7 separate regions of the Homo sapiens genome follow, and all the other regions are linked to region 3. The links are contacts of gene promoters, found by promoter capture Hi-C in blood cells and fetal thymus (Javierre and others, 2016). All regions are on one chromosome and are shown on one strand. The core of a region is centred on a gene start or on the middle of the fragment in contact, and the rest is flanking DNA. Distances in the headings are between cores, read along the strand shown. Region 1 has its middle 220 kb from the start of MIR7160. Region 2 has its middle 180 kb from the start of MIR7160. Region 3 holds the start of MYOM2 (myomesin 2). Region 4 overlaps ARHGEF10 (Rho guanine nucleotide exchange factor 10). Region 5 has its middle 200 kb from the start of MIR7160. Region 6 has its middle 2.8 kb from the start of ARHGEF10. Region 7 overlaps ARHGEF10 (Rho guanine nucleotide exchange factor 10).

Evidence for each region. Contacts are between HindIII fragments. The CHiCAGO score rates a contact against its expected background, and 5 or more counts as called.
Region 1: a contact is called between a fragment that was not itself captured here and the fragment with the promoter of MYOM2 in region 3, in 1 of 17 cell types (total CD4 T cells). The highest score is 5.5, in total CD4 T cells.
Region 2: a fragment that was not itself captured here is called in contact with the fragment with the promoter of MYOM2 in region 3 in 7 of 17 cell types (activated CD4 T cells, total CD4 T cells, fetal thymus and 4 more); the score reaches 10.3 in activated CD4 T cells.
Region 4: a fragment that was not itself captured here is called in contact with the fragment with the promoter of MYOM2 in region 3 in 6 of 17 cell types (neutrophils, activated CD4 T cells, monocytes and 3 more); the score reaches 14.1 in neutrophils.
Region 5: a fragment that was not itself captured here is called in contact with the fragment with the promoter of MYOM2 in region 3 in 7 of 17 cell types (activated CD4 T cells, naive CD4 T cells, fetal thymus and 4 more); the score reaches 10.0 in activated CD4 T cells.
Region 6: a contact is called between a fragment that was not itself captured here and the fragment with the promoter of MYOM2 in region 3, in 1 of 17 cell types (neutrophils). The highest score is 6.4, in neutrophils.
Region 7: a fragment that was not itself captured here is called in contact with the fragment with the promoter of MYOM2 in region 3 in 1 of 17 cell types (monocytes); the score reaches 5.1 in monocytes.

Annotation. Positions count from the first base shown.
Region 1 is chr8:2,297,310-2,300,096 of GRCh38, reverse strand. No RefSeq gene overlaps it. Among named protein-coding and RNA genes, the nearest start is that of MIR7160, 220 kb to the right of the region's middle. RefSeq lists an enhancer at 812-1,311. The HindIII fragment of the contact is 4,151 bases long and covers 1-2,787 here.
Region 2 is chr8:2,255,916-2,258,951 of GRCh38, reverse strand. No RefSeq gene overlaps it. Among named protein-coding and RNA genes, the nearest start is that of MIR7160, 180 kb to the right of the region's middle. RefSeq lists a silencer at 1-25. The HindIII fragment of the contact is 679 bases long and covers 1,048-1,726 here.
Region 3 is chr8:2,043,540-2,046,527 of GRCh38, reverse strand. It overlaps MYOM2 (myomesin 2), which reads right to left and starts at 1,482. Exons shown (of 37, transcript NM_003970.4): 1 at 1,360-1,482. The HindIII fragment of the contact is 1,181 bases long and covers 408-1,588 here.
Region 4 is chr8:1,872,258-1,875,049 of GRCh38, reverse strand. All of the region lies in intron 7 of ARHGEF10 (Rho guanine nucleotide exchange factor 10), which reads right to left. Among named protein-coding and RNA genes, the nearest start is that of ARHGEF10, 50 kb to the right of the region's middle. RefSeq lists an enhancer at 960-1,671. The HindIII fragment of the contact is 6,557 bases long and covers 1-2,792 here.
Region 5 is chr8:2,274,250-2,277,131 of GRCh38, reverse strand. No RefSeq gene overlaps it. Among named protein-coding and RNA genes, the nearest start is that of MIR7160, 200 kb to the right of the region's middle. The HindIII fragment of the contact is 905 bases long and covers 1,122-2,026 here.
Region 6 is chr8:1,819,721-1,822,510 of GRCh38, reverse strand. No RefSeq gene overlaps it. Among named protein-coding and RNA genes, the nearest start is that of ARHGEF10, 2.8 kb to the left of the region's middle. The HindIII fragment of the contact is 4,377 bases long and covers 1-2,790 here.
Region 7 is chr8:1,853,699-1,856,647 of GRCh38, reverse strand. All of the region lies in intron 2 of ARHGEF10 (Rho guanine nucleotide exchange factor 10), which reads right to left. Among named protein-coding and RNA genes, the nearest start is that of ARHGEF10, 31 kb to the right of the region's middle. The HindIII fragment of the contact is 439 bases long and covers 1,460-1,898 here.

The sequences.
Region 1 (2,787 bases), core at 220-2,719, 250 kb before region 3:
TAACTTGAAAAGATGCACTCACTGAAGCATCCACTAGGATGAATGGAAATTATACCAGCCTTTAAATTCAGCCGTCAACCTGGTCCTTCTCACAGCAAAGTCAAAGGTCAGCACATAATGGTTGTGCATTATAATATTCTCAAGAGCAGTCCTCTCACAGGGATGCTGTTTGAATTAGCTAATTGATGATTGCCAAGGGCTTTGGCGAGGCAAGGCTCTGCATAACTGATAATTACTATTATTATCACAGGGACTAAGATGTTCTGCATTGCTCTGTGAACAAAGGGCCAAGAAATGAATTTGCTATAAGATATAATGTAGCTAACAAAAAAGAAGTGTGAAAAGATAGAACATACGACGTCTCAAGTAGCTGAGATTTGTTTAGGAAGTTGTTTCTGCTTTGTGTTCCTGATAAGGACATCAAAACAGGCAAAATAATGGACTTTTTAGATACCCATAAAAGCATCCCAAAAGATTGCTCATTTCCTTTGTGTTAAAAATATGCGACTTTGCACGCAGAGAAGAGTTCTCAAGATTGCCAGACACTGAGCACAAGTCGTCAGAAGTTTAGACAATAAAGGGACATCTGAAAGACACCTGAGACAAGACAGAGAAAAATATCCAGCTTTAAAGGTGTCATACCCAACGTGTGTATTTTCCTGCACCAATTTTTTAAAAAAATGCCAAACTGATTCTTTCCTTAAATAAATTTGGGACATTCTGACCAGGCACGGTGGCTCATACCTGTAATCTCAGCACTCTGGCAGTCTGAGGCAGGCAGATCGAAGCCAGGAGATCAAGACCAGCTTAGGTAACAAGACAAAATCCCATCTGTACAAAAAATACAAAAAATTAGCCGCGTGTGGTGGCACACACCTGTAGTCCCAGCTACTCAGGGGACTGAGGCAAAGGGTCACTTGAGCCCAGGAGGTTGAGGCTGCAGTGAGCCATGACGGTGCCACTGCCCTCCAGCCTGGGTGACAGAGCGAGACCATGTCTCAAAAAATAAAAGTAAAATAGTAAATTTGGGGCATTCTTTCTGTCCTCCTGGCAGACAGGGTTGGTTGGTTTGATTTGGTTTTATTTTTTCCCTGGGTCATCGGATCATGAGAACACACACGAGTCTTCAGCCTCAATGGGTGGCTCCATCCTGCCCACTGGAGAGGTCAGTTTCTCAGCGCAGCTCATTCCAGCTCACAGGCCTCACCGTCAGGCCTGCCAGGATCGCAGCAACCTGCCTGGAAGACGAGCTGATGAGCTACTGGCCGGGTTTCCAGTGATACCAAGTTGAGCCCTTTTGTCTGACACCTCTGTCTGAAGCAGGGAGAGAGTAGGAGGACGGAGACCAAAATGGGGAATCCAAGGATGGCACAATTTAAAACAAACACTGTGAGGCTACCACGCCCCGCCGTGCTGGGTTATGGATCAGAGGGTCTGAGAACTGCAGCTGGCATGGTGAGATTATTTTCCACGTGAGCTCCCGTGGAAGGAACTGAGCACTGTTCCTGGGGTTCCAGTGCCCTGTGCTGTGATGAGTCAGGGGAGCTCTCCCTCCTGCTCCAAGCTCCTGAGCTGCCCTCACTGAGGACCACTTTACCAGTGTTCTCCTGCAGTGTTTTCCTGGATCCTTTCGGCTTTTCCGGGCACTGACAGGGATAGGAATGGGAGAGAGAAGAGAGAAGAAACAAAATCCACAACAGAGCCTTCGTCAAATTCCATAATTACAGAGGCTTTGGGGATTTCCAAAAGATTATTGTTGGGGGAGTAACGGCTGATTCCGAGAGCCCAAGCCGAAGCTAATTCTACAGAGGTGTTCACAGCAATGTCGTTGGTCTGGTTGGTTCGAGAAAAGGCAAATAAAAAAGGCAACAGTTAATGATCTCGGCTACTAACAACATGGTAGCGTCGCTTTCCCACACCCTGAAGCTGAGGGACATTTTCTTCTTGGGGTAGCCAATTAGTAGCATTAATGGGACAGGAATCAGATTAATCATGGCACGAGCCACCCGCTAATGCATTCCACCCATTATTCTCAGCATTCACTCATCAAGCAGTCTCCAAGAGCCTCCAAGGAAATAATAAAACGGGTCGATCTGAATGCCTCTCATCTCCCTTCTTCATCTCATCTACCTCTGACCTGGTAGTTAAGGAGCCACAAAATGGACAGGCCAGGGGCTATAGAGGAATCTGAGGAGAAGGATCAGGATAATGGGCAAACTGGAGATGTGATTAATTACAGAATGCACTTTTACTTTCCCCGGGTGAATTAGCTATAAACCATAAGCCTTCTCCCTGCTGCCATGGCCTTCACCTATTTTATCCTCAAAAAGAGATAAGCAGAGAAAATTGCAGCTTTGCAAGTGACATTTGCCCCTTCCTTGGCACTAAGGATTGGCAGGTTGCAATAACACACTCCAGACAGGGCTCCTCAGGCTGTACCGTGCATGTGAGCGGCCAGGAGAACCGACAGAAATGCAGGTTCCGAGGCAGTGAGTTGGGGACGGGGCCAGTTGCCACATGTCTGTGGTCTTTTAGCTGCAGGACAAACCAGACTGAAAGTCCTGCAGCTTCCAGCCCATCCGTGCACACACCATGTCTGGAAAATATGTATGGAACGGAGAAATGGGCAGTCACTGGAAAGAGAGCCACTGGCGACTTGACTTCTCTGTGAGGAATCCTGTAGCCCAGCCCAAGACAATGAAGAGGTTCCTGATGAGAACGTGTGGCTCTATCTGCCTGGTCACTGCCGAGCTGACAATGAGGATGCCCATCCAGCACCCAGGGTGT
Region 2 (3,036 bases), core at 138-2,637, 210 kb before region 3:
GCCTCAGAACTGTGGGAAAGGCGCGTCTACTGTTTCACAGGCCCCAGTGGTGGAATTTTTGTTACAAAATTCTGGATGGACTAAGACTTATGGCTTCAGGGTTAACTCATTCTCACATCAAGAAAGTGGTACAGTTATGACAATCTTCATCAATCATAGCCTAAACTACCCCTGAAGAAATTTAGGGAGGTTTCAGATTGTGTTTTCATCTCAATTAAAATGAGTTTTATCTATCTTCAGGTTTCAGAAATTAAATTTGCATTGTGGACAAATTCAAGAAAGGCATATTTTAAATGTCTTAAAGTCAAAGTAGATTTTTTTGATCTACCTTTACCATACATCCCACAAATACAGTCATGCACCCCATAACAATGCTTGAGTCAACAACAAACCACATATTCTACAGTAGCCCCATATACTACGGTGACCCATACACACACAAACTCAAGCATGGTACATATATGCCGATGCATGCCAAAGGATGTAGATTAAAATCTACATGGAGACAGAAAAGCAGATGAGTTTGTCTTGAGCACAGTCATACTTAATCCAAACGTAACAATATTCCAATTTTACTTAAGAAATTTCACAGATTCTAAGATGCCTAACAACACATTGCTCTGTCATTAAGTGAGGCATGACTGCACGTACTAGCAGGCGAGGAAGACAGTAAATGTTCAATTAATGTTTGATGATTGACCAAATCAGGTGGGATGGTGGGGGGTGGGGGGTGGAGGATGGGGAACGATTTGTCAGACATTTTGGTGAATCCAAGGTTTCACTCAAGTCAAAATAAAAATATTCATAGAGCCCAATGCAAACAAGAAAACACACAGACAACAAAAAACACAGAACGACAATGACAAAATGGCCAAGCAGGAGAGCCGCACGTGTTCCTGACCTGGCTGCAGCTGTCCCTGAGGCCCAGGCCGTCCCGGACCTCACACCGAACCCGAGGTTATGGCCCCCAACCTTCCTCAGCCTCTCCTACCCTGACCACACAGTCGCTCGAGAGCCTTTCTTGATAGGAAAAAGAAATGAAAAGCTTAGCTCATTTTAACAGAATCAAAATGACCCAGACCTTCACATGTTTGTATCACAAGAGCTAAATCACATATTATTTGATGATCTTCCTTTATGTCCAGCTTGGGTTAAGTGAAGCATTAATTAGAGATGAAAATTGTTATTTTTTTAAACATAAATTTACACTAAGTAGGTGAGTCATTTGGTGTCTGAAAAAATAAAACCTAAATAACTCCAACTTCAGACACACCAGATAATACTCTTAAACTTCCTTAACTGACTTTTAAAGTCAGTTTTTTCCCATTGGTGCTTCCTACAGCACCAGAGAAATCAGCATCTCTGTAGGATCAATGTGTTTGTGTCTGCAGGAGCTCAGATAAAGCCCTGGTTTTAGCTGAATGATTAGTTGTGATACCTTTTAAATGCTCTTTTGGGTATAGAAATGCTGACTTAGAATTTATGATAACACAGAAATCAGCTTATAGAAATATATGAGAACTATCATATCCAGGAATTAAATGAATCCACTCATAAATAAAAACATATTGATATCCACCTGTTAAAGGAGAGGAACTTGATATCTTTCTCACCGACAGATAGCAAGACAGGCACATGGAATTTTTATGCTTGCATACACTATGCTTAGGGAAAACAGGAAACAAACTTCTCTTAAAACGGTTTTATTATTTGTAATTAAGAAGCTTGCAAAATTCTCTCTCCCATTTATTTAAATATCTGAATTATTCTTGAAGATCGTATGTTACATATTTTCATTTCTTCTTCTGCTTGTTTTTGCATATGTGGCATAAATTGTGAGTAAAACTCTTGAATGGTGTTTCATATCAAACACGAATCCTCGTGTCAAGCTCTGAGCAAAGTCGTGAGAGGAGAAAGTATCTCCCAGCAGGATTATTCATTCCTTCTGTTGACGTCATCTACCCATCCACGCCAACTCTGGCCGCCCAAGGCCACCAAGCTAATAGCACTCAATGGTGTTCCGCATGTATCCTCCCTATGGACTTACCAACTCCTAACCACCCAACCAGAGTGGGCCTGTCTCCTGCTTCCCACCCTGCTCTCTGCTCATTGAAAGCTGGCTCTTCTATGCTACTGGCTGGTTTTTACTAAGGCATGCATATGTTTCTCCTCCCATAATACAGATGTGTATATTCACATGGGCCTTTGGAATATGTCCATCTCATGTGCAGCCTAGAAGCTCCTCCACATGGCTCTGTCCACCCAAAATGTATTAGGAGTGACTGATAATTTCAATCAGTTCTCACTTCATCTAGTAACAGCCTTTTCTGAAATTCAATTTCCTCTCAAAAAGAGGCAATGACGCTTCTAAGATCAAGCAACCTTTCGCCTAGGCAAATGACAAACCTATGCAAGTGACAAATTTCTTCCACCATTGAAAATCGATCCATTGGAAATATTCATCATTCCAATCAATAGGGAGCTTGCGTAGGGAAACATGTGTGACTGGGCCGAGGCGGGCAGATCATGAGGTCAAGAGATCAAGACCATCCTGGCCAATATGGTGAAACCTCATCTGTAACAAAAATACAAAAATTAGCTGGGCGTGATGGTGCTCGCCTGTAGTCCCAGCTACTCAGGAGGCTGAGGCACAAGAATTGTTGAACCCAGGAGGTGGAGGTTGTGGTGAGCCGAGATCATGCCACCGCACTCCAGCCTGGGCAACAGAGCAAGACTTCATCTCAAAAAAAAAAACAAATTGTGCTAGTGTAACCATCCTTAACCAAAAGCAAACGATTATTCAGAGACAAATGTGGGTATTTGGGCTCTAGTGGATTTGGGGTTAAAATTTGGAAGTTTGAAAAAGCTAAAGGTTTCTCAGAGCCTCTTTTTAAAAGTAAGCTGCATAAGCTGCCATTCTTTATGAGGCCTCGTTTCATTCCCCTTAAACATGGCCTTGAAATTCCGTATGTGGGAGAATACATGAATATTGAATCAAAGGTGCATGGCTGGCATATTTTATGAAGATTCCCTACA
Region 3 (2,988 bases), core at 233-2,732:
CACGCTGTACTGTTAGCACAGACCGTCCCCAGGGAAATATGACTTGCCCGGGTCACCGGTAGGGCCACGGCCGAACCCAGGCGCCAGCTGACTCTCCTGACAGCGTCCAGCCCACTTTCCACCACAGCCCAGCTCCCCGGCCACTCCCGGAATGCTCCTGACACGTTTAGGAATCATGACACCAGGATGAAACGCGAGCCTCTCCTCCAGTGCAGGGGACCACGTGTCTGATATCCCCATCCTAATTCCTTCCTGCAAACAACGTGTGGAGCCCATTCCTCATGTCACCAGGATGGGTTTTAATTTGCAAAAATGTTTGAAGTACAAAACATTGACTTCCACTTAATGAAGGAAATTGTTTGTACAGTTAAAAATGTCAAAGTCAATAAATACACCAAATTAAAGCTTTCTAGAGGGGAAAGGGACTCCCAGACACGCAGCGTTGGCCTGTGCCACAAGTGGCTAAGCCCTTGGCTCCCAAGACAAGTTTTAGCTTGGGACTTGGTTTATTAAATAACGCCTTAAATTATCTTTGTTCCACGCTTTCTTTGAGTCCTGTTTTACTTCTACTTAGTAAGAAAGGAATGTGAAATGGAGAATTAGAAAAGGCCAGGTGTTCCCAGTGATGGCAAACCCCTTCCTTCCGTTTGCCTCCGGTGCCTTCCACGTGCAACCACCCAGCCCCACTGTCTTTCTCCAGCAGGTTGCATTTCAAGAGCACGCCCTGAGAAGGCACAGCCTCTATCAGCGGAGTGGAGCTGAAGAAGTCTGAAGGGTCACAACACACCCAACAGCACAAAGAAGAAAACAGCCGTAAGAACGCTGTCATTTTTGGGCAAAAACTTGCAAGTCCTGACAAGGATTGTTCTCTTTCCCATACCGTGGATAATATAGGCTAGGTCTAAGCTGAATGACCCTCGACTCTTTTTTCCCTTAAGAAAATATCCAGTTTTATTATTTCACACCTTTATAAGTCAGCCCTCTCCTCGGGGGAGGCTTTCGTTTCTGAGAATCTCATGAAACTTGCAGACATCAGTCCACTGACTGGGGGGCCCCCTGGGGCCACGATGAGACCAGGGCTAAAACCCAAAGCACACGCCGCAGGGTGCTAAACGGCACTTAGCAAAGACCACGGCTGTGGGAAATAAAATGTTAGTTGAGCATAAAACCTCGTCAAAGAAATACAGATCCCAGAACTAATTGCTCTGTTTTCCACAGTAAAGGGTGCCTGCGACGGGGTGCACTGGCTCTCTCTTCTTGACCCTGAAGTAGAGGTACTTAGAAAATGTGAGTGCAGAAGTTACCGGTCCTCCCCTTAAAGCCACAAATTAGAAAAGGCAAGAAGAGAAAGACACTTACCCAGACAGAAAGGAAAATTGCAAGGAGGAGAGAGAATTCCTGACCACCGGCTCACCAAGCCACCCACACTCCAGCCGAGGAAGGCAGAGCTGACTCCTGCAAAGCAAGCGCCTGTGCCTCCCTCCCGTTTAAGGTCTGAGGAGCTACTATATATAGACGCCTGGGCCTGCCTCTCCCCACATCAATACCCACATCGTAAATCACCAGCCTGACCTCAGGAGGAAAAGCTTCTTGTTCAAACTGAGGGCGGGGGAAATCACGATTCAAAACTGGAACGTGTCCTTTCTGAGTCCCAAACTGCACTTTTCCCAGGAAACCGGGTGTGACACTTCAGCCCCCGACCCAGAAAGAGAGGGCAGGGCACTGACTTCCCACGCTCCCTCCCCGCAACTCTCCTCCATGAGTTCTAATCCTTACGTGTGAATTCTCAGACATATCTTCAATCCTTTCGAGCTACAGGTTCCCTGGCTCACAAATTGCAACTCCTGAATGAGTCTTTAATAATGACATGGATTTCAGTGAGCATTTGTGCCATTCGCAGGCCTGGACACCCGAGTTGAGGTCGGCTGTGGAGGGAGGGAGGTGCACAAGCCCCTGGGTTTGTGAGCGTGTGTGTGCATGTTCGTGTGTTTGTTCGTTTTTTTTTTTTTATTTCAAGAACGACTCAGGTCTTCACTCGATTGTATCTTAGGGCTATTTTAGCAAGAACTGCCTACCCAAAAGAGGAGCGGTGCCTAGTCGGCAAGTCGGGGCTTATTTATAGCCATTACCACAGACGTACACTGCGTCTACACCACACGGATAATTGCAGGGTGCCCGTCGTTTCGCACAGCGTGTGTCCAAATATAGATAACACACACCTGGCACGGTCCTGGGCTGCAGCCTGGCCAAGAGGCGGGGCCTCAAGGGGATGCCCCCATCTGAGGACCCGGAGAATCACACTCCAGCTGCACCTCACCACAGGGGCTGAGGACTTCGGCCAGCTGCTCAGCCCACGGGGGCTATGCTCCCCAGCTCTAAAACGCATGGAATAACAACTTTCCTGTAAGTTTGTTGTGACAAGTAGAGAAAATATGATAAGAGAATTGCCTTAAGAAACTCCACGTTCTCACACTGGGGTATCAGAGGCACAGCCAAGGACCAGCGAGCAGGTGGATGGAGGCGAAGATCAGATACGAGAAAGACGCGAGCACAGCCTCTTGCTGGGCCCCAGAGCGTTCTGGATGCTGGATCAGGAGGCGAGTGTTTCTGTCTTCTTCCCCTTCGTATTCTGATGGCCTAGCATTTAATTTAATTAGTGTTTGTTGAGTGATTTCTTAGTCTATTCAGGCTGCTTTAGCAAAACACCATAGACCGTGTAGCTTATAAAACACAGGAGCTTCTTTCCCACAGTTCTGGGGACTGGAAGTCCAAGATCCAGGTACCAGCAGACACTGCCTGGGGAGAGCCTTCTGGTTCTGGGACGGCGCGGTCCCTGAGTCCTCACCAAGTCAAGGGGCCAGGCCGCTCTTGGGGCCTCTGTATGAGGATACTGATCCCACTCGGGAGGTTCCACCTCCATGACCTTGTCACTTCCCTAAGGCCCCACCTCCTCACACCATCGTTTTGGGGGTTAGGGTTTTAACCCAC
Region 4 (2,792 bases), core at 138-2,637, 170 kb after region 3:
CCAGCCTGTCTTAGAACCTCTACCCCCTACACGCCCTGGTGTGTGTCTGCACTCTCCCACCAGACTGTCTTAGAACCTCTATCCCCGACACAGCCCCGTGTGTGTCTGCACTCTCCCACCAGACTGTCTTAGAACCTGTACCCCCTACACGGCCCCGGGTGTGTCTGCACTCTCCCACCAGACTGTCTTAGAACCTCTACCCCCTACACGCCGTGGTGTGTGTCTCCACTGTTCCTCCAGCCTGTCTTAGAACCTCTACCCCCTACACGCCCTGGTGTGTGTCTCCACTGTTCCTCCAGCCTGTCTTAGAACCTCCACTGCTTACACACCCCGGTGTGTGTCTGCACTCTCCCTCCAGACTGTCTTAGAACCTCTACCCCCTACACACCCTGGTGTGTGTCTGCACTGTTCCTCCAGCCTGTCTTAGAACCTCCACCCGCTACACACCCCGGTATGTATCTGGACTGTCCCTCCAGAGGTTATAAGGAAACTCCATCCCCTATTTCCTCGCATCCATCTCTGGACTTCCAACTTTTCTGGTCCATACAAAACAAGTCTACACAGACATGGTTTTCACACATGTTACCTTTTTCACCTCAATTAGATTTTCAGCCCTTTGAGAGCTGGAGCTGCATTTTCTGTATTCCGCACAGCAGTTGGCAAGAGTCTAATCAATCAATCCAGCTCTCTCAATGCCTTGTTAAGGCTCCTGGGACCCAGCCACAGGATCAGGCACGTTTGGACGCCTTTACTTAGGTCTGTTAGAACTCAGGCTATTCAGATGTGTGAAAAACGGGTGGTTTTCAATGTTTTAGAAACGCAATTGCTGTTGTGACCCCCAGCAAACACGGAACTTCCAAGGACTTTGAAGGGTCTTGCTAACCATCAATTCAGTGAATTACTCACTTCCTCTTGAATGCCTGGGCTGGCAGATTTGTGGTTCTAAAATTGAACGTTAAATCCAGTCACCCTGGCATGTGTTTTCTGACCAAGCCAGTGACCAGGCAGCGCCATCGACTTATTGTCCTCGATGACAATCTTGTCGTTGGCCCTTAGCCCCGCGTATTTAAAAAGTGGCCTATGGAGGCATTGGCTGTACAGTGAGCGTACCTAATGCCACTCAGTCCTACGTGCTGAACTGACCGAAAGGAATATTTACGTATACCTGACACAATAAAAAAAAAAGAAAAAAGTGGCCCTGTGTGGCCTCTGTAACATCTAGTAAGGAATTCTCCCATATTCTCCCTGTGTTCTGAGAGCCCCGAACTCTAAACGAGTGAAGAAATGTGGGTGCACTACCCCGCGGCACCTCTCAAGGCAACTAGGAAATGCGAGTGCACTACCCCGCGGGCACCGCTCAATGAAACGAGGAAATGCGGGTGCACTACCCCGCGGCACCTCTCAAGGCAACTAGGAAATGCGGGTGCACTACCCCGCGGGCACCTCTCAAGGCAACTAGGAAATGCGGGTGCACTACCCCGCGGCACCTCTCAAGGCAACTAGGAAATGCGGGTGCACTACCCCGCGGGCGCCTCTCAAACGAGGAAATGCGGGTGCACTACCCCGCGGGCGCCTCTCAACGCAACGAGGAAATGCGGGTGCACTACCCCGCGGGCTCCTCTCAATGCAACTTGATGCCAGCACACTGTGACTTTCTCCTCTTGCTTTTGCTTTTTGCTCACCATTGCTTCTGAGTTCTTATAAACATACACACATATAATTTCCTCGTTTTTCTGCTGCCGTGCTGTGGGTGGTTTACTGGATACTTCTGCACGGTGCCCTCCTGCAGCCACCAGGCTTTCCCGTCTCCCGGTCCGCACAACAGCTCTGCACAGAGCATCCCACAGGGCCCTCCTGCGGCGGCGTGAGTTTCTTTCGGAAACTGGCTCCCTGCCCCACCACCGCTATGGATGGCCGGTCCATTAACTCCTGCTTGTGCTGTCCTTACAAAGGGGACACACTGGGCCTCGCCACACGGCAGGGGGCCGACGGCTGGACTCCCGCAGTGTGTTGGCTTCTGAGTCACCAGACCACGCCTTCCGCGAGGAATGCCCGAAGCGACCGGATAAATTACCCCAAAATGCATTTCAAACTTGTTTTTACATCAACTAACCTTTGGTCCTCACTTTCTTTGTGGCACATTTACCTGCAAGCACCTAGGAGTTTTCCTGATCAACAGGATGAAATCACCCTATCTCCATGACAGCAGGCACACCTCCATCTACTATTCGGTATGTAACTGCCCAAAACATATTTGCGGAATGAATAAATTAACGAACGCCGTGAGCTCCTCCCCATTACGTTGGCGGTAGATTTTAAGAACACGTCCTTAATTCAGCTAAGTGAGTTTCCTTCTATCAGCAGTTTTTAATGTTGGATGGTCACTGAATCTCAGCAAGTGCTTTTTAAACACATGCTGAGATAAGCATATGGGTTTATGTCCATCAATTTGGGGAAATCGTGTTACAAGAGCTTCTCAAAGGATCCTTGAACTGCTGCCATGAATGTAAAAGGTTAAAACAGGCTCTTGCTTACTTGTTAGGGTCATGCTGGATTCAACTTCCTGACATTTCTGGAAGGAAATGTAGCATCAACCTTCGCAGGTGAGGGAGTTTACAAGTTTCTGCTAACATTATAAACTAATTCTCACCTCATCCTTGCTTCTGCTATTCACTGGAACAGTGCATGCGACTGAGGGGTTTGTCCGCTCCCTGAAGGCTCAATAAACCCCAGCATAAAAACATCTGAGCCTGGTGGGCTGTTCTGCACAGTAGTTAAGCAAACCATTCATT
Region 5 (2,882 bases), core at 325-2,824, 230 kb before region 3:
TTATCATGCCTCAGCTTCCCGAGTAGCTGGGATTACAGGTGTGTGCCACCACACGCAGCTGGTTTTTGTACTTTTAGTAGAGATGGGGTTTAACCATGTTGGTCAGGCTGGTCAAAACTCCTGATCTCAGGTGATCCATCCGCCTCGGCCTCCCACAGTGCTGGGGTTACACCCATGAGCCAACACGCCCGGCCAGACAGGCCATTTCCATGATGCCCAGGCTGGCCTTGAACCCCTGGGTTCGAGCAAACTGCCAGCCTCAGTCTCCCAATGTCCTAGGATTACAGGCGTGAACCACTGCTCCCAGCCAGTATACGTAATTTAAATGTTTTACAATTAATTATTTAAATTAAATGATTTAAACAAAATTATTCGAATGATGTAAACACCCTAGAAATAAATCCGGGTATTAAGAAGGAAGAATCACGTTCCAAGGGAAAAGGAGCTAATATTAATCCAAAACATTTGGTGCACTATACATAGTTATTTAGTATATTTACTAGATGTAGTGTGTATAAATAGTCACCAGATAGGTAGGTAAAGACAGAAAGGGAGATTGAATTAACATTACTTTTAGAAGTCAACCGGAGCTACTCAGGAAAGGCCCAGCACTAACATAAAGGGATGAATCGGCCAGGCTGGCCAGTAGGGGATAGCGAAGACTGTGGCAAAACCAAGTGTATGCCTAGCCAACATCATGTTCAGGTTACTTCTCAAACCAGCCAGCACCTAAACCACACGCCTCTGTGGGCTGACAATACATATTTGGGCCAGATGAGGCCTGCAGACGGTCAGCCCCTAAAGAGATGTCTGGTGAGGAAGCTATTTTGAGCTGAGACTGGACAGCTGAGAAGTGTTAGGGACTCATTAACACTTCCCAACCTAAACAACAGTTTAATTCAAGCTGGACAGAGCTGAGACATGGGCAGGCCTGAAGCAGAGTGAATGAGAGATGGAGAAAAGGCTGTTTATAACAATTAAGGTAGAACCCACAGAAGCATTTATAAGCTTTGGAAATAAGGGTTTTAAAACTATTGCCCTGGTAGGTACTTTTTACATCATGTAAGTAAACCCTAAAATGGCCAACATATCTAGGTTTAAAGAGCAATATTAAAAAAGCTTATTTTCTCCATTTTCCCTGCAAGAGATAATCCTAAACATCCATTGTATCAAGCTAGTCAGTCTCTACCTTGAACGTGGTTGCAACTGTAGGTGGCACAGATAACGACGTTTGGAAGAATTAAGTGATTTTGTATTAAAAAGCCCTTATTTCTGAATATATATGGGATATTTTGGAAAGAGGTATACACATGGATTTCTTTTTAATTGGAGATTAGATGTTTAATCATACTCTCAAAATGATCCATGTAGACCAAAATGTGAAGTTGTGCTGGTCTATAGCGGTGTTTTCCAGCTCTGGATCTCCCTGCAACAGCAGCCTCATGACCCGCGAGTTAATCAGAAACAGAACGAGCGGATCCACCCGCCCAGCGAATCAGCCTCTGTGGGGCGAGGCCGGGGGCTGAGGACAGGCTCTCCAGGTGAGTGACCCAACGCGGCTAAAATATATGACCTGCGGTCCTGGCTGCACATCCTCAGAGACTTCTCAGTGAAGTAATTTGGTACAGATTTTAGGAAAAGATATTTATGTTGTCTTTACTAACCAGAACCAGTTTAAATACAGTCTTTTAGAAGGAGAGGAAACAGAATCCATCCTATTTTTCCAGAGGTAACTTTTGTGTGTGTGTGACTCACATCTGTTTTCTGTTTCCCATTCGGAAAGTGTCTCCAGGGTAGTGGCCTGCACCCTATGAGCATGTCCACTAACCAAATGAACGAGAGGTATTCAATCACTTAGGTTAGTTAAAGTCTGTGTGATTCCCCAAGGTTTAGCTCACGGGTGAAAGGGCACATGCTTTCAATGAGATCTAAAGTTTTTGGCAAGTTGATCGTAAGCCCGAGAGACCCCATGGTTCAAACGCAAGCACATGTGTAGGGCACACACATACACATAGCTGTGGAAGCTTCGTGGATGCACTTTCTCCATCTGCATTTTCCGGAATTTCCCTGCATCACATAGTGAAGGGGAAACCAGATGTGCAGAAAAGGTTCTCCTCGGGAGGCGAAGGCAAACAGAGCTGTCCTGTTTGCTCCCCACTGAAGCCACTTACACATAACTCTGTAGTCCATAGTCAACAAGATGACTCCAAGGGGAAGGAGGGAGGAGGAAAGGAAAAAGTCAAGGCAGAGGAGATTAGCTTGGCAACACACAGCCGAGCATCCATCCATATTCTGTATCATATTATCCCGCCTGCTACACAAGTACCTCACAGCAGATAGCACTGACTGCCTGACTACACACGCCAGGGGCATGTTGCTGGATAGCTGTGCTTTTTCTCCATGTCTGCTTACATTTAATCTTCAAATCACTTATACACAGATTTATATACACAAATGCACATATACACATATACATAAACACACCTGTGCAGGTATACACACAAGGACGTATACATGATAAAGTCTAGTTGAACTACATTAATCATGGGTACATGCATGTACATACATGCACACATAAGTACATGCTAGAATCCACTTATGCTGATTACATTAATCATGGGTGTATTAGTCCGTTTCCACACTGCTATAAAAAATGCCCGAGACTCGGTAATTTATAAAGGAAGATGGTTTATTTGACTCATAGTTCCACATGGCTGGGGAGGCCTCAGGAAACTTACAATCATGGCAGAAGGTGAAAGGGAAGCAAGGCACCTTACTCACAGGGTGGCAGGAGAGAGAAATGCAAGCAGGGGAAATGCTAGACGCTCATGAAATCACCAGATCTCATGAGACTCACTCATCATCACAAGAACAGCATGGCG
Region 6 (2,790 bases), core at 223-2,722, 220 kb after region 3:
AGATCAATGGTCAGATCAATGGTCTTGATCAACAGAAGTAAGAAGGTCAACTAAATTAGTTCTTGTTTACCTAAATACGATGAGAAAATCCTGATACTTGTAGTGTTTTCTAAAAAGGTAGAGATAAGAGGAAATAGTCCTGTGTATGGAATAAACAACTCATTTTCTCAATGGATGAAATTGAGCCCCTAAACTCAGGGCCGCCAGGGACACCACTGAGTAGGGCCACAGAGCAATGCCTTCCAGGCAGGTTGGGCAGAAAATCCCCTGATTTGGAGCTCCAATAGATCCTGTCTGTCTGCTTTATTCAGGCGTTCCTCACAGATACATCCCTATTTTCGTAAGCCCGGATATGGAAGAGTTGGGATTTTCCATTGTGATTCCCTCTTTGACCCATGGGATATTTAGAAAAGTTAGGTTCACCTTTCAAATATATGGGGACTTTCTGGTTTTCTTTTTATTGTAACTAAAGTTTAATTCCACCGGGCCTTAAAACATCAGCTGTTTTATTTTTGTCGTTTAAGATTTTCAAACACTTGCTTCATGGCCCAACATTGTCTATTTTGGTAAATGTTCTATGAGCACTTGCTGAGAACATGCTTTCACTGACATAAAGTTCTACAGATGTCAATTAGGTCATATTTGTTACTGATTTTTTTATCTACTTGTACTTTTTATCTACTTGTACTTTTTATCTACTTGTACTGATAAGGGTGTATGAAAATCTTTGACTCTCCGTAGTCTATTCAGCATTGTCCTGCAGCATCTAACAAGTGTTGTAGGTCATAAAAACAAAAAGTGTAAGGATTGAGGGAGGAAAAACTGATTATTTACAGTCAATATGATTATATATGTTAAAAAACAAAATTATCTACAAATAAACTATTAGGATTAAAATAGAATTTAGGAATTTCAGATGGATCATAGACTTAAGTGTAAAAATTATAAAGTTGCTAGGATAAAATATAAGAAAAGATCTTACGGATCTTCAGGTAAGACAGAAAATGGACCGACCATTTAAAAATGATTAAATGGCTTATCAAAATTTAATATTTCTACTCATCTCATGACATCATTAAGAAAATGAAAAGGCAAGCCACAGACTGGGAGAACACAGGGGCAATGCATATATCCCACAAATGGCTTGTCTTAATCCACGTTGTGCTGCTGTAACAGAATACCTGGGAATGGGTGATTTACAATGAAAAGAAATTTATTTCTCACAGTTCTGGAGGCTGGGAAGTTCAAGATCAAGGAGCCACATCTGGCAAGAACCTTCGGGCTGCATCATCCCATGACGGAAGGTGGGAGGCGGAGGTGGGGAGGGAGGATGCAAAATGGGCCAAACTTATCTTTTTTTTTTTTTTTTTTGAGACGGAGTCTTGCTCTGTCATCAGGCTGGAGTGCAGTGGTGCGATCTCTGCTCACTGCAACCTCCGACTCCCTGGTTCAAGCTATTCTGCCTCAGCCTCCCGAGTAGCTGGGATTACAGGTATGTGCCACCACACCCAGCTAATTTTTGTATTTTTAGTAGAGACGAGGTTTCACCCAAACTCATTCTTTTATAAGGAGCCCACCGCCTCAGTCATGGCATTTATCCATCCATGAGGGTCATACCCCCATGACCCAGACACCACCTAGTAGGCACCTTCCAACACTGCTGCATTGGGGGTCAAGTTTCCAACACATAAACTTTGGGGAAAACGCGTTCAAACCATAGTCCTGGTAAATAGAGAACTCCTGCAAATGAACAATAACAAGACAAGTCTATTTCAAAAGGGACAAAACAATATAACAATAACAAGCCTGTAAATAACAATAACAAGTCTATTTAAAAATAAACAAAAGACGTAAATACTTCACCAAAGATGTACTGATAGCCAACAAGAACAGGAAATAGTGCTCAGTGTTACCCAAAGTAAACTCACAATGAGATGCCACCACCGTCATCCAAGCACGGCTGAAACTGCAGACCGACATGGCAAGGGTAAAAATGTGGAGCCCCTGGAACCACTATACAAGGCGATGAGAGTGCAAATGGCGCAACCACTCTGATTAATTGTTTGCCCATTTCTCAGCAATCCCACTTTTAGGTTTGCCCAAGGCAAGTGAAAACATAAGTCCCTTAAAAGACTTTTACAGCCAGACATGGTGACTCCCACCTGTAACCCCAGCACTTTAGGAGGCCAAGGTGGAGGATTGCTTGAGCCCAGGAGTCTAGCATGATAGTCTCCACCTCCAGTCCCAGCTACTTAGGAAGCTGAAGTGGGAGGATCGCTTGAGGCTGGGAGGTCAAGGCTGTAATGAGTCATGTTCACCACCACTGCACTCTAGCCTGGGTGGACAGAGCAAGACCCTGTCTCAAAAAAAAAAAATGATTTTTACAAGAATTCTTTCTTCAAAACAGTTCAAATACTTCGCAACTGGAAACAACCCAAATTCCATCAACAGGTGAACTCATAAAGTATTGTATCTTCATAGAATAATAGAATACTAATAATACAGTAATAAAAAGGAAGAAACTGATATGTTCAATAACAATGAATCTTGAAAACATGAAAAACATAGACAAAAGGGCACATATAGTATGATTCAATTTTTATGAAATTCAAGAATGTGCCAAACCAACCTATAATAATAGGAATCAGAACAGTGGTTATTTTTGGGGGTATTGTCTCAGAAAAGACAAAGGAATTCTGGGGAGTGATGAAAACGGTGACTACATCTTGATTTGATTTGCAGACACATGGGTGTGTTCACTTTGTAAATAGAATCAAGCCGAACACAAGA
Region 7 (2,949 bases), core at 430-2,929, 190 kb after region 3:
GAGCCCTGCTAGGGAGCAACCCACAGACACACAACCCACTTACACTCCACGCAGTCTCCAGGCGCTCTCTGCCGAGCCTCCTGGGGAAGTCGCCTCCCGGGGAACTCTAGCGGTCTAAAAACAACCTTTAAATTTGAGGTGTTTCATTTTCCTTTGAATCTCCTAAACTAGTCATACATTCTAGGAGTGCCTTTTGAAGGAAACAGATTTTTAGGTCACCACAAATACACAGAGGGGCCCAGGCCCACGACAGCGTGAACTGGATCCAGCTACCACTGCAAGGACGGTGGGGATGAGACCCCCAGCTGACCATGACACCTGGGGACCCCACGAGCTTTCTGGAACTGCTTCCACCAACACTCACGAGTTTTACAAGTATGAGAATGACAAATACTAAAATTGAATCAAGAAAAAGGATTCAGAAATGTGTTATTTTTAAAACATACGTCTGATAGGAGTGTGTGTTGCTGTCCTTCTGGATGGTGAACTCTGCTCTGCCCAGATACCAAAGCCTCACCCACTTCCTAGAGGGTCAAAGACTTCTCTAAATTCAAAGTTTTGAATTTAAGCCTAATCAAATGAAACAATCGAAGCAGGGGGAGAGCTGGAATGGACAGAACCGCTAATTTCCAGAGTTTGAGCCTTGTTAACTATGTACTTTCAAACCAGTCCTCACTGTCTCCCAAGCGACCGTAAACAAAACCTATTTCAGAAGGGGTTTTTTTTTTTGCCATATCATTAAGTAGTCAGTTTATGGAAATGAACTGGTGAATACCTTTTAAAGTAAAAAGTTAAACAAACAAAAAAACTGTTTTCTGGAATATTTTCCAAATGCAACTGTCATTTCCACAGAATTCACGTTTGGGGAGAAAAAATCATGTTTGCCAAATAAACGTGCTGCGGAAACAATGCCGACTAAATGCCGTGACGAAAATGATCAGTGAAAATGTTTATGTATTGCTGGGCGCAGGGGCTCACACGTGTAATCCCAGCACTTTCAAAGGCCAAGGAGGACTAATTGCTTGAGCCCAGGAATTTGAGACCAGCCTGGACAACATAGTGAAACCCCGTCTCTTAAAAAAAAAAAAAGGTACAAAAATTAGCCTGGGGTGAAGGCGTGGACCTGTGGTCCCACCTACTCCGAAGGCTGAGGTGGGAGGATCACCTGAACCCAGTAAGCGGAAGTTGCAGTGAGCTGAGATTGCGCCACCGCACTGCAGCCTGGGGGACAGAGCAACACCTTGTCCCCCACCCCAAAAAAAGTTTCTGTTCTGACCACCCCAAAAAAAGTCACTGCCAGGCACATGTTCAGATTCATCCAGACGGTGACACAATCACACTAGATTTTTATATTGTCAACTCTCTTTTTTGGAAATTATAGTTTACTACCGCTGAACTCAAACAATTAGATAAAATACACCTAGACATGAGTCTATAAATATTGTTTTTTAAAAAAGCTTGACAATGTCTGGTACAAAATAGGCTCTCAAATATCTGCAAGGGGAGAAACATGAGCTGTTGGGACCGGAACCCACACTGTACCCCATACAGGAAGAAGGAATTCTCTTTAAAGTCTTCAGGAAGGAAGGCCGTGAACAGGAGCCCGTGTGTGCAGGAAACAGCCCTGAGGAGACACCGAGGCCCCTCCACTCCCTCCCCATACGCCACCTCCTGGGCTGTGACACCAGCCCCGGGAGACCGGTGGGATTACCTGGGACAGTGCATGTCCCGTGTGCCAGGTACAGGTATGACCCTGAGAAGAACCGCATGCGTTCTCGGAGCCGGCACCTCTGCTCACCGCCCAGCAAGGTGCAGTGGGAAACCTGGTTGGCGGCAATGTGTGACACGCACATCATGTGAGCGAATGAATGAGAGAATGACGAGCAGATGAGCAAGCTTCAAACTGTTTTTTGCCAAAATAACTCACTTTTTCCCCTAGTAAAATTTAAGTAGAATTCTACTATACAAGGGAAATCAAAGCAATCAAGAAATTCCTCCAAAAGTTTAAATCTTGTTAGTTTAGACTTGGAGGGGCTTGGAAGGGGCTTGGGGCTTGGAATTCAAGAGCTCTCTGCTGTCATTGAAAGACTGGCAGACACTGGCGGAGCTGCCCTCCATCCTCTGCAAACACTGCAGGGAAAGACTTTCAAGTTATATAGACTCTGCAGAATGATGTGTGTTACAAATTCCTCTCAGAATTCAGTTCCAGTAAGAAAAAAATAGCCTTTCTACAAGAACTCAAAGAAGTTGTGCTCAATGTAACCACCTGAGGCTGCACCCCTGCCTGCATGGGTGCCCACAGCTGTGCCCACGGCGGGCGCCCAGGACAGAGGGCGAGGCCGCCTGGAGCTGGGCTGCTCCTCTGACCCCCACCTCCAAGGGGGCCTCCATCGATGGTGAGGCTGCGCCGCCCTCTGAGGTGAGCATGGGGCCGGGCGTTCAAGGTGGTGTGTGCTGAGCATGTCCATCCCAGACACTGCCCTGGGCCCTGGGGGATCCTGGGCATCACAGACCCCACCCGAGCTCCCCAGGTCCCTTAGTGAAGTGCAATGCAGAATGCCTTTAAAAATCCCAGCATTTGGGGTCCTAAGTTTAGTTCTGACACCAGCCCTGACAGGTTCAATTGTGTCCCCTAAATCCCTGTGCTGAAATCCTCACCCCCAGTCTGCTGGTGAGCTCGTCTGCAAACAGGTGACTGCAGGTGCAATTGGTTTACAGGAGGCTGTGCTAGAGCAGGCTCGGCTAACCCAGTGTGGCAGTGTCCTCATGACAGCAGAGGCCAGCACAGGGACGAGGAGCCACCTGGCAGTGCAGCTGCAGGAACTCCCGGGAGTGCCCACAGCCGGCGGGCGCTGGAAGAGGCAAGGAAGGCTGTGACCTACATTCCCGGGGAGCACACACAGCCTGCCAGCACCCTGACCTGGGACTTCCGGCCTGCAACCCAGGAGG